Linked DNA regions of Homo sapiens: all the other regions are linked to region 1. The links are contacts of gene promoters, found by promoter capture Hi-C in blood cells and fetal thymus (Javierre and others, 2016). All regions are on one chromosome and are shown on one strand. Each heading gives the region's core, a stretch centred on a gene start or on the middle of the fragment in contact. The rest is flanking DNA. Distances are from core to core; before and after follow the strand shown.

What was found. Contacts are between HindIII fragments. The CHiCAGO score rates a contact against its expected background, and 5 or more counts as called.
Region 2: a contact is called between a fragment that was not itself captured here and the fragment with the promoter of SDHAF4 in region 1, in 1 of 17 cell types (naive CD8 T cells). The highest score is 5.1, in naive CD8 T cells.
Region 3: a fragment that was not itself captured here is called in contact with the fragment with the promoter of SDHAF4 in region 1 in 1 of 17 cell types (total CD8 T cells); the score reaches 5.2 in total CD8 T cells.
Region 4: a contact is called between a fragment that was not itself captured here and the fragment with the promoter of SDHAF4 in region 1, in 1 of 17 cell types (non-activated CD4 T cells). The highest score is 5.5, in non-activated CD4 T cells.
Region 5: a fragment that was not itself captured here is called in contact with the fragment with the promoter of SDHAF4 in region 1 in 6 of 17 cell types (non-activated CD4 T cells, activated CD4 T cells, total CD4 T cells and 3 more); the score reaches 6.5 in non-activated CD4 T cells.

The regions. Positions count from the first base shown.
Region 1 is chr6:70,565,503-70,568,202 of GRCh38, forward strand. SDHAF4 (succinate dehydrogenase complex assembly factor 4) reads left to right here and starts at 1,428. Exons shown (of 3, transcript NM_145267.3): 1 at 1,428-1,502. The coding sequence starts at 1,439. RefSeq lists a silencer at 1,716-1,775. The HindIII fragment of the contact is 5,796 bases long and covers 729-2,700 here.
Region 2 is chr6:70,429,862-70,432,561 of GRCh38, forward strand. The region is part of intron 4 of FAM135A (family with sequence similarity 135 member A); the gene reads left to right. Among named protein-coding and RNA genes, the nearest start is that of FAM135A-AS1, 17 kb to the left of the region's middle. The HindIII fragment of the contact is 4,816 bases long and covers 1-2,700 here.
Region 3 is chr6:70,727,337-70,730,051 of GRCh38, forward strand. All of the region lies in intron 1 of SMAP1 (small ArfGAP 1), which reads left to right. Among named protein-coding and RNA genes, the nearest start is that of SMAP1, 61 kb to the left of the region's middle. The HindIII fragment of the contact is 3,512 bases long and covers 1-2,715 here.
Region 4 is chr6:70,363,731-70,366,470 of GRCh38, forward strand. All of the region lies in intron 1 of LOC105377848 (a long non-coding RNA gene), which reads right to left. Among named protein-coding and RNA genes, the nearest start is that of LINC01610, 29 kb to the right of the region's middle. The HindIII fragment of the contact is 3,427 bases long and covers 1-2,740 here.
Region 5 is chr6:70,706,846-70,709,545 of GRCh38, forward strand. All of the region lies in intron 1 of SMAP1 (small ArfGAP 1), which reads left to right. Among named protein-coding and RNA genes, the nearest start is that of SMAP1, 40 kb to the left of the region's middle. The HindIII fragment of the contact is 1,411 bases long and covers 697-2,107 here.

The DNA.
Region 1 (2,700 bases), core at 178-2,677:
ACCCTGTCTCTACTAAAAATAGAAAAATCAGCCAGGTGTGGTGACATGTGCCTGTAAAAACATAAAATACATAAATAAGCTAAATTATGCATGCTGGAAATAATTTTTTTTCCCTGTTCTGTTCCTTCAGGGCCTCTGTTAAGTGGGGCTCTAAATATGAAAAGCAGTCAGTTGCCAGCTGGGCCAGTTTATTGAGCAAAGCCATCATCCGACTTTGAATTTTTTCCTCAGTCAGCTAGTCACAAGGAATTCATTATTAAACTGTAGATATAAGCTAAAGGTCAAAAGCATGATATTAGGACTGTGAGCTCCCTACAAATGAAAACTGTTTCCGTTTTGACTTTGGCCCAGTTCTGTGTATCCCACTTTCTCTCTTTTTTCTTTTTCTGTTTTTGAGATGGAGTTTTGCTCTGTCTCCAAGGCTGGCGTGCAGTGGCGTGATCTCTGCTCACTGCAATCTCCGCCTCCCGAGTTCAAGCGATTCTTCTACCTCAGCCTCCCAAGTAGCTGGGATTACAGGAATGTGCCACCTCGCCCGGCTAATTTTTGTATTTTTAGTAGAGTGTTGGCCAGGCTGGTCTCGAACTCCTGACCTCAGGTAATCTACCCGCCTCGGCCTCCCAAAGTGTTCGGATTACAGGAGTGAGCCACCTTGCCCGGCCCACTTTCTCTTCGTAAAAGGATCTCCTTATCTAGGAGAACCAGATAATTCTCAGTTCATGATAAGAAGCTTCGATCGTATAACCACTTGATGTCACATGGTCAGACACTACCAAGGCGCAATAGCTAGCCAGAAACTTTTCTTTAAAAGAAAAGACAAAATTCCAGAATTCTGGGGGCCTTCACTATGATTCTGTAAATATTTCCACGAGTTGCACAAAGCATCCAGGTCTGCCACATCCACTCAACGCTATCAGAGCTGGTGGGATGTAAGGGTTAAGGGGCAGAGCTCATTGCACTGGATCCTGGCCTGGATGGAGAGCCTTTTCTTGCTTTGCACCTCATTCAAAAATGTCGCCTTTCATATCATCTGGTTAGTCGGTCAGAATGGACGAACTAGGAGCTGACTGAACAAAGATTTAAAACACAAAACAGGGAGAATTAGGTAAAAGAAGCATTTTACATGAGTGAGAGAGTAAAAGGTGCTCAATCTTTGTAAACTATAAAAGGGATCTTCCACGGGCCATTTCGGCTCAGACTGACAAGCATGAACGGAACGGAATTATTCCCTCTTCTAACTGCAGCCACGATTTGGCGTTTTAACACCGGGCTCAAGGTAGCCTGGGTCTCTCTTGGCCAAAGAGCCCAGGGATGCCTCTAACTCCTTTTCTAAAGCCGGCCACGGAGGCCCCGCCCTCTGCAGGGAGGCTCCGGATCATGCCCCCTGCTCCTCCCACTACTGCTTTGCGCCTGCGCGGAGGCTCGGGGAGTCGGCGCCATGACCCCATCGAGGCTTCCCTGGTTGCTTAGCTGGGTCTCGGCCACGGCGTGGAGAGCGGCAAGTAAGCACCTGGCCTCGGGGCCACGGTCGCGGGAGGGGTCGTGAAGGCCCAGGCGCAGAGAGAAGCGCCTCCCGCGGAGGAAGCCGCGTGTGTCCTGGCCGTTCGGTGTTGCCAGGGGCTGCCCAGCTTCTCCCGCCCAGCCGCCCACCCGGTGGCCTGGGCAGGTTCCTGCAGCGCCCCGGGTCTCGGGTGGGACTAGAGCGAGAAAATCGCTAAGGCCCTTTCAGCCCCCGGGACGTCCGCTTCCTACCGAGCACGCGGTGGCCCAACAGGACCACAAACGTTCCGGGTTGTTCCTGTGGGAGCTCGCAGGGCACACCGCACTTCGATGCCCCAGAGAAAAATGGAAAAGAAGGCCCTTTGGGAATGGGAGTCATTGATTTACTTATTTATTTACATCATTATTTACAGGAATCCGCGCTCCTGGTCCAGGCTCCAGCAGAAAAGGATTTGTGGCAGTTTACAGTTTATCTTTTAAAAATGGGAAAAGTGCAGAAGTGAGCCAAAGGCAAATAAGTATAACGTAAATTAGATGAAGCCAGGAATTGTCAGTACAGAAAAAGCATTCATGCTTTCAGTAAAACCAACATTTTTAAACCCATTGTTGTTGGAAATTTTTCTCAAGATAATACAGTTAGCAGCCCAGACTATGCAAAACATAATTTTATTTATTTATTTATTTATTTGTTTATTTATTTTGAGATGGAGTCTCGCTCTGTCCCTCAGGCTGGAGTGCAGTGGCGCAATCTCGGCTCACTGCAAGCTCTGCCTCCCAGGTTCACGCCATTCTCCTGCCTCAGCCTCCTGAGTAGCTGGGACTACAGGCGCCCGCCACCGTGCCTGACTAATTTTTTGTATTTTTAGTAGAGACGGGGTTTCACCGTGTTAGCCAGGATGGTCTCGATCTCCTGACCTTGTGATCCGCTCGCCTCGGCCTCCCAAAGTGCTGGGATTACAGGCGTGAGCCACCGCGCCCGGTCCGCAAAACATAATTTTAATATATGACACCTGGAGAAGTTATGTAAGTTGAAAACAGTAATTATTGCCCTCAAATGGTGCCAGATTTCTATGCAATTTGTTTTCCTTTGTGCAATCATTTTACCCAAATACAAACATTTTACTTAATTGTATAAGTTTTAAATAGTCCAGAAATGAATAATACAGAAAGTGAAAGTCCTACATTATCCAAACCTCAAGG
Region 2 (2,700 bases), core at 72-2,571, 140 kb before region 1:
AGTGGGACTAACAGAAGAAGTAGAGCAAGAGATTCTCTATTTTTTTTTTTTGCCTTGACCTTGCCATCTTGTTGAAAAAATAAAAACAGCTGTGCCTGTGCTGTGGTCTGCTCTATATGGTCTCTAATTTCTTAGCAGGCCAGCCTGGACTTGTTCTCATGGTGGAGACAAGAGTCTGAGATAGAGAGCAGAAGGCCGGGTGCGGTGGCTCACGCCTGTAATCCCAGCACTTTGGGAGGCCAAGGCGGGCAGATCACCAGAGTTCAGGAGTTCGAGACCAGCCTGGCCAACATGGTGAAGCCCCATCTCTACTAAAAATATAAAAATTACCCAGGTGTGGTGGTGGACGCCTGTAATCCCAGCTACTCGGGAGGCTGAGGCAGAAGAATTGCTTGAACCCAGGAGACGTAGGTTTCAGTGAGCCGACACGGTGCCACTGCACTCCAGCCTGGGTAACAGAGTGAGACTCTATCTAAAAAAAAAAACAAAAAAAGAAAGAGAGCAGAAGATGCAAGTCTCCTTCAATTGACACACTGTTACTTCCACTGCATTCCATTGGCCAAGCAAGTCACAGTGCGAGGTCACGAGTCAGGCTGGTGGCTTTTTGGCCAGTACAATTCACTTAAAAAACTTTGTGGACTGTCCATATGGCTGATAAGTTTATTCCATGCTTTAAAGCCCACAGCCACAGTTGTTTTTGAGACATGCTTGCTCTCTAGATAGCATATCTACCAATCTCTGCTACTTGGGGATTAGAATTCTGTGGGATCATGCCCATCAACTTTCTAAAAATCCTTTTGTCATGCTGAGAACGTCTGCTTACATCTTAATTCTTTTAGTGATCTTAAGAAAGGAAGCTACAGCTACATCCTTGAGTTGATCTTTGTTCAAGGGCTTTGTTTTATTTTCAGGAGACTGCAGATGAAACAGTTTTATTTTCCAACCCAGCAAGTTCTAGTTGCTCTAGATTTCTTCTAGATTCTGCTTATAAAATGACTAGCTCTTTCTTTAGTTCATCTCTATCTTGCAGAACCTTATACTTAGCTAGGAGCAACCAGTTGGCGTTTTTGGTATTCTGCTTGGAAATTAATTTGCTAAGTCCAAAAGTTTCTTAGATACATTTTCTGAATTATTCCAGGTTAGTGTAAGATAGCATATTACATCACTCCATAACATGGTTACCATTTTCCTCATCTCCTATAGTTTCCTCATTATTTTTCCACCATTTGTAGCTGTAACTGTTAGTTTGGCCCCAGAATTAATGCCACTTATTTTAAGTTTTTGTTATGGCACACACCACTTCTAGGTATCGATTTCTGTATTGTTTATTGTCACAATAATGCAGCTAACCACAAACACAAAGACTCAATGGCATTATGGCAATAAACATTTATTTTTGCTCCTAAGTCTGTGGATCATCTCAACGGTTCTACTGATCTAGGGTGGCTTGGCTCATCTTTGCTGGGCTCACTTCATGAATGCACAGTCAGATGGCAGATTGGCCGGGCACTAGCTGGATGCAGAGTGGCCTCAGCTGGGCAGTCTCAGTTCTGTTTCACAGTCTCTCATCCTGCAGCTTATTCTCATGGACAAGGCATGGGTCCACAGAAGAGAGAAACCATGCCAGCAGACCTCATATCATCTAGGCTTGGAAATGATGCACTGTTACACCTCCACCACAAGATACTGGCCAAAGCAAGTCATAAGTAAGGCCAGCCCACATTTAAAAGGTGGGCAACTACACTCCACTTCTTAATGGGAGTCACACTGTAAGAGGTCTGAATATAAGGAAGAGCAAAATATAGGTGACATTTTTAAAATCAATCTACAGGTTACATTTTGTAGGTTTGTTTTTAACAACATGATTTTGACAAGCTAAATGTGTAAAAAGCAATTCAGTATTGGAGTTAGATTTGAAGACTAGCTAGAAAACAAATTGCTTGCTTAAGTTGTATTCATGAAAAAAATGATTATTTGGAAACCATTACTGTTTATAAAATAGTTTTCAAATATATGTAGTGTCCTCTGACCTATATATAAAATATATCATTATAAAATTATAAAATATTTTAATGTGTAATATAAACATAATATCAACATGTAAAATTGTTCTTTCCAAGTAAAACAGTGTTACTCTTTAGACAAAAAAGTCATGATGTGAAATCACTTTGCTTAATAAAATCATGTTAAGTTTTACCTCATACAATTTTAACACGGTGTTGTGTATTAACAATCAATGCTATAAATGTGTTCTAAAGAATAGAGGATAGAAATGTAATAACTTAATATTCACAAACACATTCTTTTAGCCACTAACCTCAGTATTTTATTCTTCCTCTAAAAAAATAAATTCAAGTTTTCTGACAATGGAAAAAATAGATGTATACTTAATCTCTACCTGCTGCACTTCTGTAAAGATACTAAAGAGCATCTCTTTCTCTTATGACTACTTATAAAAGATTTATTACTATTATAGTTCATTTTTATGCTAGATCAAAGCAGGAAAAGGATCTACATTATTATTACACTTGAAAAATAACTTATAGAAGAGCAAAATTAAATTTGTTAAGTAAAGCGCTTTTCCTGTTCATCTGTGAGAATATGTTTTTGTGGCCCTTTGCAACTTTCTGTCTTTCTTGAAGACCATTCTTATAATGAACTTAACAAAACATTGTTAATAAATAGACATCCTTACTTCTT
Region 3 (2,715 bases), core at 113-2,612, 160 kb after region 1:
GGCCTTAAGTTATCTGCCCACCTAAGTCTCCCAAAGTGCTGGGATTACAGGCGTGAGCCACTGCGCCCAACCCACATAATAATCACATCAAATGCCACTGTCTCTACAAAGCCTCCATTAATATTGTTGGCTGACATTAATTTTTACCTCTTCTATGTTCCTGTGTCATTTGTACTTATTACTATAACCATTATATGATTATTAGAGTTCAAGCTCCTTGAAGGCAGGATTTGTGTTTTGTCATCTTCGTTTAATACTTCGGTCAAAATAAACACATAATAGATAACTGGTGATTTAAATTGGATCTAGAAAACTCAGGTTTGATGAAAAAGTCTTTTATTATTCTTTAACCCGTCTTAGAATTTGGGCTCTAAAATCAGGGATTGCTAAATCTATTGTGTGTTCTGTTTGCTGTTACCAACATTCAAATGTAATTCACACTGACCGTGTGCAGTGTGGCTCATACCTGTAATCCCAGCAGTTTGAGAGGCTGAGGCAAGTGGAATGCTTGAGCCCAGAAGTTTGAGACCAGCCTGGACACCATGGTGAAACCCTGTCTCTACAAAAAATACAAAAATTAGCTGGGCGTGGTGGTATGTGCCTGTAGTTCTAGCTACTTGTGAGGCTGAGGTGGGAGGATCACTTGAGCCTGGGAGGCAGAGATTTCAGTGAGCCAAGATCTTCACCACTGCACTCCAGCCTGGGCAATAGAGTGAGACCCTGTCTCAAAGAAAAAAAAAAGTGGCTTAAACAGGGTAGAAGTTTATTTCTCCTTCACATTGGTCTGGACATGAACTGTCCAGTATGGGTAGAGTAGTTCTGTCATCTTCACCATGGGGCTTTTGTAATTGGATCCAAGGTTGCAGGTTCATTCCTTATTGTCTCCTAGCAAATGGAAAAGGGGAAGAGGCCAGGGGAACACAGGCCCAGTGTGGTTAATGGCAAAATATATCATTTCTGTTTACATTCTACAGGAGAGGCTGAGAAATGTAGTCTTCCTATCAGGACAGCCACATTTCTAGGTAAAATTCAGAAGCCTTTATTACTTAAAGGAAGAATGGGAAAATTGATATTAAAGATAGTGATTTTTGCCATAATTTTCAGATTTATTTCCATTTTTAAAAATAGTAGATCAGTTGTTCAGGAATCAAAACATTTGAGTATTTGACTGAGTCATCAGATCTAGCAGATTTTTAAAATTATACAGTCGATTCCCTTACTGTAGGTGATACAGAAGGTTATATAAGAGCCTTCCTAGTGAGAACTTTACCATCTACTTTAGGAGACAGAACTAATTACAAATGAAAAAAGAGTAGATGCCTATTGTGGCACATTCTGTGTCACATGCTGTTATGAGTGTAGACATTTACAGGAGATAAATATTTCCTATAATCTAATATAGAGGAAAACAGGAAACTGTTAAAGGTTTGGAGTTGGAAACTGAAATGGTGCGAGAGTGTAAACTGGTAATGGAATTCAGATTGGGTGAATTATCTTTCTCCCTCTTCTTCTGATAATGAATTCAGAGTGGATGAGCTCCCTCCCTTTTGCTCTGCCTAATCTCTGAGGTTACCTAATACTTTTCAGCCTCAGTTACCACATCCAGATGTTCTTTCTTAGCCCAATTACTCTTGACTTCTTTGGAATATTTGATACTATTGAACATCTTTTTTTTTTCCCTGTTTTTGAAAACAGCTTTTCTTTGAAACGACCTCATTCTCTACTTTTACTGCCTTTCATTTTCTCCCTAAGATTTAGTACTGTGCTTTTTTGCTCTTTTTGTTCTTGATACTGCAACTCTCATCTTAAAAGAAGGTGTGAGGCTGGGCGTGATGGCTCATGCCTGTAATCCCAGCACTTTGGGAGGCCGAGGCGGGCGGATCACGAGGTCAGGAGATCAAGACCATCCTGGCTAACATGGTGAAACCCCGTCTCTACTAAAAATACAAAAAATTAGCTGGGCGAAGTGGCGGGCGCCTGTAGTCCCAGCTACTCAGGAGGCTGAGGCAGGAGAATGGCATGAACCTGGGAGGTGGAGCTTGCAGTGAGCCGAGATCACGCCACTGCACTCCAGCCTGGGCAACAGAGCGAGACTCCGTCTCAAAAAAAAAAAAAAAGAAGGTTGTGTGTGTGTGTGTGTGTGTGTGTGTGTGTGTGTATGTGTGTATGTATCCAGTTTGAACTTTAGTCCTATATTCTAAATCGCCTGCCAGACATTTTCATCTTGGTGTATCACTATCATTTAAAGCATTCAATGGATCTCCTGCAGTTTTCTGACTCCACGAGGACCCTCATGCTTTATATCCTAGGTGCAGAACTTGCATTTTGGCCTCTACCTTCTCCTTTGCCACTGTATTTTCTATGAGTAAGCCCTGTCAGTTCTTCCTGGTGATTTCATATTTGTTCGTTTCCATTCTTACTGCTGCCACATTTATCAGTCCCTTAATTACGTTAGTTATGTGAAAGCAAATCAGGAAGTGTGTTGAATGCTTGAGTTAAAGATTGTGGAGAATGCTCTAGAACCTTGCTCTTCAAAATGTCATCTGTGGATGGCAGCATGGGCATCACTGGGAACTTGTTAGAATGCAGAACCTTAGGAGCTACTCTGGGGGTCACAGAATTAAGAGTCTTCATTTTCATGATATTTCCAGTTGATGTGCATGCACATTAGGGTTTGAGAGACACTGATCTAGAATTCACTGTGCATTTCTGCTT
Region 4 (2,740 bases), core at 142-2,641, 200 kb before region 1:
AATATTTTAGATCTTATACAGTATTCAATTTATATTCATATCCTTGCTTTCCAGACCTCTAGTCAGCTGCATCGTGAAGGATGTGGAGGTACCCAGGCCACTGTGTGTTATTTCACTCTTTCAAAGAGGTAGTGAAGCAGGATATTTCCCTGGCCCCTTCATGGGACTCACAAAGGGGGTGCCTTGTTTCCTCAGCCTGCAGTTCTCAACTCCTCGCAGGAGGGAGCACGCAAGCGAATAAGGTGGGAAATTGTGTGCCCGGGCACTGGAACTAGCCAGCCACTTCAGTGCTGGCAGTGGCAAATTCCACTCACTTGGAGCCACTGCGCTCCACCCCTCGTGGGAAGGCGCATGCAGGTGAGCAGGTGCAGGAGCCAGGGCAAGCACTTTTGGGTGTGAGCAGGAGCAAAGTCTGTGCAGGCCCCAACAGCAACATCTGGGAGGGTACCTGTGACCCCTGAAGTCCCAGAGGGAGTGTTACAGTGCTCTTTTAGTGCTGCTGTCCACAGACAGCTTAAGTGTTAACAGCTCAGTGGACCCTCTACCTTTTGGTGTGAGGCAGCTGCCTTTTGCCAGAGAGGGCAAAGGGTCAGTGTGACAGCCTTTTGTATCTGCACTCGTGGTTCCTGAGTTCTTCTGTGGCGTCCAGGAGGAATGAGGTCACATGAACAAATTGAAGGATTGTAAATGTGGGAAATTTTATTGCCGATGGGCATGGCTGTCAGTGGGAAGGGGAGCTGAAAAGGGGACAGAGCTGGAAGGTAATCTTCTCCTGAAGTCCAGGAGTCTCCAACCAGATTCTTCTCCCAAGTTACACGGTCAAGCTGTCCCTCTGGAATCAAGCCGCTTCTCCCCGACATCCAGCTATAGTCTCTGATGTCCAGCTGCTTCTCCTCTCTCTGTCAGCTGGGTATGAGGTTTTTTATAAGCCCAGGATGGAGGGCAGGGCAGGCAATGAGTGGTTTTGGAAAAGGCAACATTCAAGTGGGAAAACAGGGATGTAAGTTCTCACTTCTGGCTGCGGTTTCAGGCTTTTCAGCTGGAGGGTGGGGCATTTGCCAGGGACCCGCCCTTTCTGCCTAGAATTTCTCTGCCTCCTGCCTCTATCGTTGTATCCATAGGAGCAGAAATATGATATTGAACAAATGGAAATAGTGGCTGAGACCAAAACCAGTAGTGTTCATCAAATTTCCATGTTCTCACCAATGGAATGTAGGGGAGATGAGGTGTCCCTTCTGGTATAGCAGTTAAAATCAAGTGTGACTTCTGCATGTTGACTCTCTCCTAAGGCTAGCTGATTAAACACAAAGCACTCAACTCCAACATGGCAGTGTTAAGCTGGATGCAGCCTGGCCCCTGGGTTGCCGCTGGAAGGGAAGTGGTGTAGGAGAGCTACCAGGCCAGCCTGCAACAGACTGCAATGTAAAGGGAGATATGTCTCTGTTTCATTAAGCCATTGAGAGCTCAGCAGTTTTTTGTTATTATGACATAATCTAGCCTATTGTGATTAAGACAAAAATAGATCTGGAAGTGAGGCACAGGAGGCAAAGAATGGGCTACACTGGAGATATCTAAACAGAGAAAGGAAGAAGAGAGAATGATTGTATGAGAGAATAACAAGTTGTGTGAGCTTGCTTATAAATAGTTGAGAAGGAACCAGTAAAGAAAGAAACAGGCAATGCAAGAAACAGGGGAGCTAATAGACAGATCTGTTCTCATGAAGAGAAGTGAAAGGTTGAGATTAAGGACTCAAATGAAGAGATACATCTTAGAAGGTGTCTTTGCTCAGAGACAAGAGCAAAGGAAAGTGAAATGGGAGAAGAAACCAAAAAACAGAAGGGGGAAATGATTGAAAGTTGCAGAAAATGTAATAAGCCGCAAAAGGGACCATTTTTAGCCACCTTCTGACAGAAGTGTAATCAAAGCAATTTCCAAGTGACTGAGCTTATATTAATCTTCTCTCACACACTTAAATTTATTCGGCTTTATCCCTACAGGCCACATGTAATACCTATTCTTAATTTATGCTAAGCCTGATATCTTCTAAATCTTACATGTTTTTAATGCAGTACTAGACAGAGTTATTCATGCTCCATGCACACTAGCAATATCATAAATTCAGATTTGGAATTACTGAGGTATGAGAGAGCTTACCAACCTGAACTCAACAGAAGTCCAACAGCATTATGCATAGGTTTTACAGAAAGAGATTTTGTTTGAATTGAGCATCAAATAGAAGAAAAAGATACATAGCATTTGAAAAAAAAGGTTTTAAAAACAATTTACAGAAAAATATATTCTGCCTTATATTAAAGAGATGGGAAGAAAATAAGAAAAGGAGGGATAGAGGGAGGAAGGGAAAGTTACCAGTTTAAAATTTTTGTTAAGTTGTAAGATACACTTTCCTTCTACTTCTGCTCCCTCCCACTAAATTCCCAAACCCACAGTGACCAAGTCAGTGGACATGTAGCCATGCAAACTGACTGTTCCCAATAAATCCCTCAACAGATTTGGAAATATTAATTTATTTTATATGTGACAATATCACTCTTTAAAAACAGGTGGTGGGTTTTGTGTCAGTTATCTTATCAACAGATCAGACTTTAGCATCTTCAGGGATCTTATTTCAAGAGTACAGAATAATTATCTATTGGTTTTCATACAGTTAATAATCAAGCCCCTCTCTCCTTCCTTTCGAATATCTCATATCTGCCCACTTCTTTCACTCACACTGTCTCAC
Region 5 (2,700 bases), core at 152-2,651, 140 kb after region 1:
AGAGGAAGTAGAATAAATGAGTTGCTAATGTATAGCCCCAGGATATATCAAATAAGCCAGTGTTTAATATAGTTTCTGGAATTTAATCATTAGTCATTAGAATGATGTTAGAATAAAATTTAGGATTAGGAATATAGCTGTTTTGTATTTTGCCACATATGTTTGTCCTTCCTTATTCTGGGTTTTTCTTTGATTTTTATCAATAGTTTTTATGTATCAGCTGTTTTTGACATTAATGGTTTCTCTTGTTATATGTTAGTTTTATACTATTAGAGTAACTTTATTCCAATTATGATGTACTGGAATTTGGATTCATGAGATTTTGTCATATTTTGATCACATAAGCATGGAACATTTGAGCTTGATTTGTTTAACAAAATAAATAAACATCATCTCTGAATATATTCACTTGTGTCCATTCTTTCTCTTTTCATGAATGTGATTTATTATTTCAGTAATAAAGGATGTTAATCTTAAATTGGTAATCCTAAATAAAACTTTTATATTATCCTCATTAACTTTTTTTTTAGCTAAAAGGAATGGTAGGCAAAATTGATGTATGTTGAAAGTCAGCCTGAAAGCTATTGAGAGCATGATCTGTTAATTAACATAACAGTAAAGGTCTTTTACTGTTGCCTTTGCGAAAAGAAAACTAAACACATATTTTCAAAAGCAAACTATTTTGGCATTTAAAAAAGCTTGAAAATAGACATCTGAAACCTAATATTGTTAATGTAACACATTTTAAACATTTATTTATTTATTTATATTTATTTTTGAGACAGAGTCTCACTCTGTCACCCAAGCTGGAGTGCAGTAGTGGGATCTTAGCTCACTGCAACCTCCACCTCCTGTGTTCAAGTGATTCTCCTGCCTCAGCCTCCTGAGTAGCTGGGACTACAGGCGCATGCCACCACACTAGCTAATTTTCATATTTTTAGTAGAGATGGGGTTTCACTATGTCTACATGTTGGCCAGGCTTTAAAATTTATTTTTTATTGCATGTATTTAAGCTGTACAGCATGACATTTTGATACACATATATAGTGAAATGATTTCTACAGTCAAACAAATCAACATATCCACCACTTTCCATAGTCAACATTTTTGGCATGGTAGGAGTACCTAAAACCTACTCTTTCAGCAAGTTTTCAGTATATTGCAGTGTAGTAACACTGCAGTGTATAACTATAGTCCTTATGCTGAACATTATATCTCTAGACTTAGCAATCTTACATAGCTGTAAATTTGTACCCTTTGACCTCCCTCTTCCTGTTTCCTCTCCTTTCCTGCGCCTGGTAACCATCATTCTACTCTCTGTTTCTGTTTACTTTTCTCCCTAGATTTCACATATACGTGAGATTATACAATATTTTTCTTTCTATATCTGGCTTATTTTACTAACCATAATGTCCCCCAGATTCATCCCTGTTGTCTCAAGTGGTGGGTTCTCCCTTTTTCCCCCAAGGCCGAATTATATTCCATTGTATGTATACACCATAATTTCTTTGTTCATTCATCCGTTGATGGACAAACACTTAGGTCATTTCCATCTTAACTATTGGGAAAAAATGCTGCAATGAACATGGGAGTCCAGATGTCTCTATGAAGTGCTGATTTCATTTCCTTTAGGGAAATCAGAGGAATTGCTTGGCCTATGGTAATTTTATTTTTAAATTTTTGAAGAATCTGCATACTCCTTTCCATAATAGCTGTACCAATTTACATTCATACCAATAGTATATAAGGGTTTCTTTTTCTCTACACCTTTCTAACACTTGTTATCTCTTGTCTTCTTGATAATAGCCTTCTTAACAGGTGTGAAGTGATATTACACAGTGGTTTCGATTTGCATTTATCTGATGACTAATGATGTTGAGTACTTTCTGATATATGTATTGGCTATTTTTATGCCTTCTTTGGAAAAATGTCTATTCAGGTCCTTTGCCCGTTTTTAAGTAAGTGTTTTTTTGGTTTTGTTTTTTGCTAGTAAGTTTTAAAAAAAATTTAGATATTAATTTCTTAACAGAGAGATGGTTTGCAAATATTTTGCCCCAATCTGTAGGCTGCCTTTTCATTTTGTTGATTGTTTCCTTTGCATTGCAGAAGCTTTTTAGTTTGATGTAGTCCCACTTGTTTATTTTTGCTTTTGTGGCTTGAGCTTTCGCTGTGATATCTAGAAAATCAGTCCAGACCAGTATGAAGGAGCTTTTCCCTATATTTTCTTCTAAGGAGGTTTTTGTGTGTGTGTGTGTGTGGTATAAGGGTCCAGTTTCATTCTTTTGCATTAGATATTTAGTTTTCCCAACCCCATTTGTTGAAGAGACTGTACTTCCGCCATTGTGTCTTCTTGGCGGGCTTGTCAGGAATTACTTGACCATATATGCTTGGATTTATTTCTGGCTTTCTATGCTGTTTCATTAGTCTGTGTCTATTTTCATGCCCATACCATAAACAATATGCCCATATTGTTTTGATTACTATAGCTTTATAATACTTTTTTTTTCTTTTGAGACAGGCTCTCGCTCTGTTGCCCATGCTAGAATACAGTAGCACGATCATGGCTCATTGTAGCCTTGACTTCCTTGCTCAAGTGATCCTCCCACCTGAGCCTGCGACTGCAGGTGTGTGCCACTGTGCCTGGTTAATTTTTAAATTTTTTGTAGAGACAGGTCTGTGTTGCCCAGGCTGGTTTCAAGC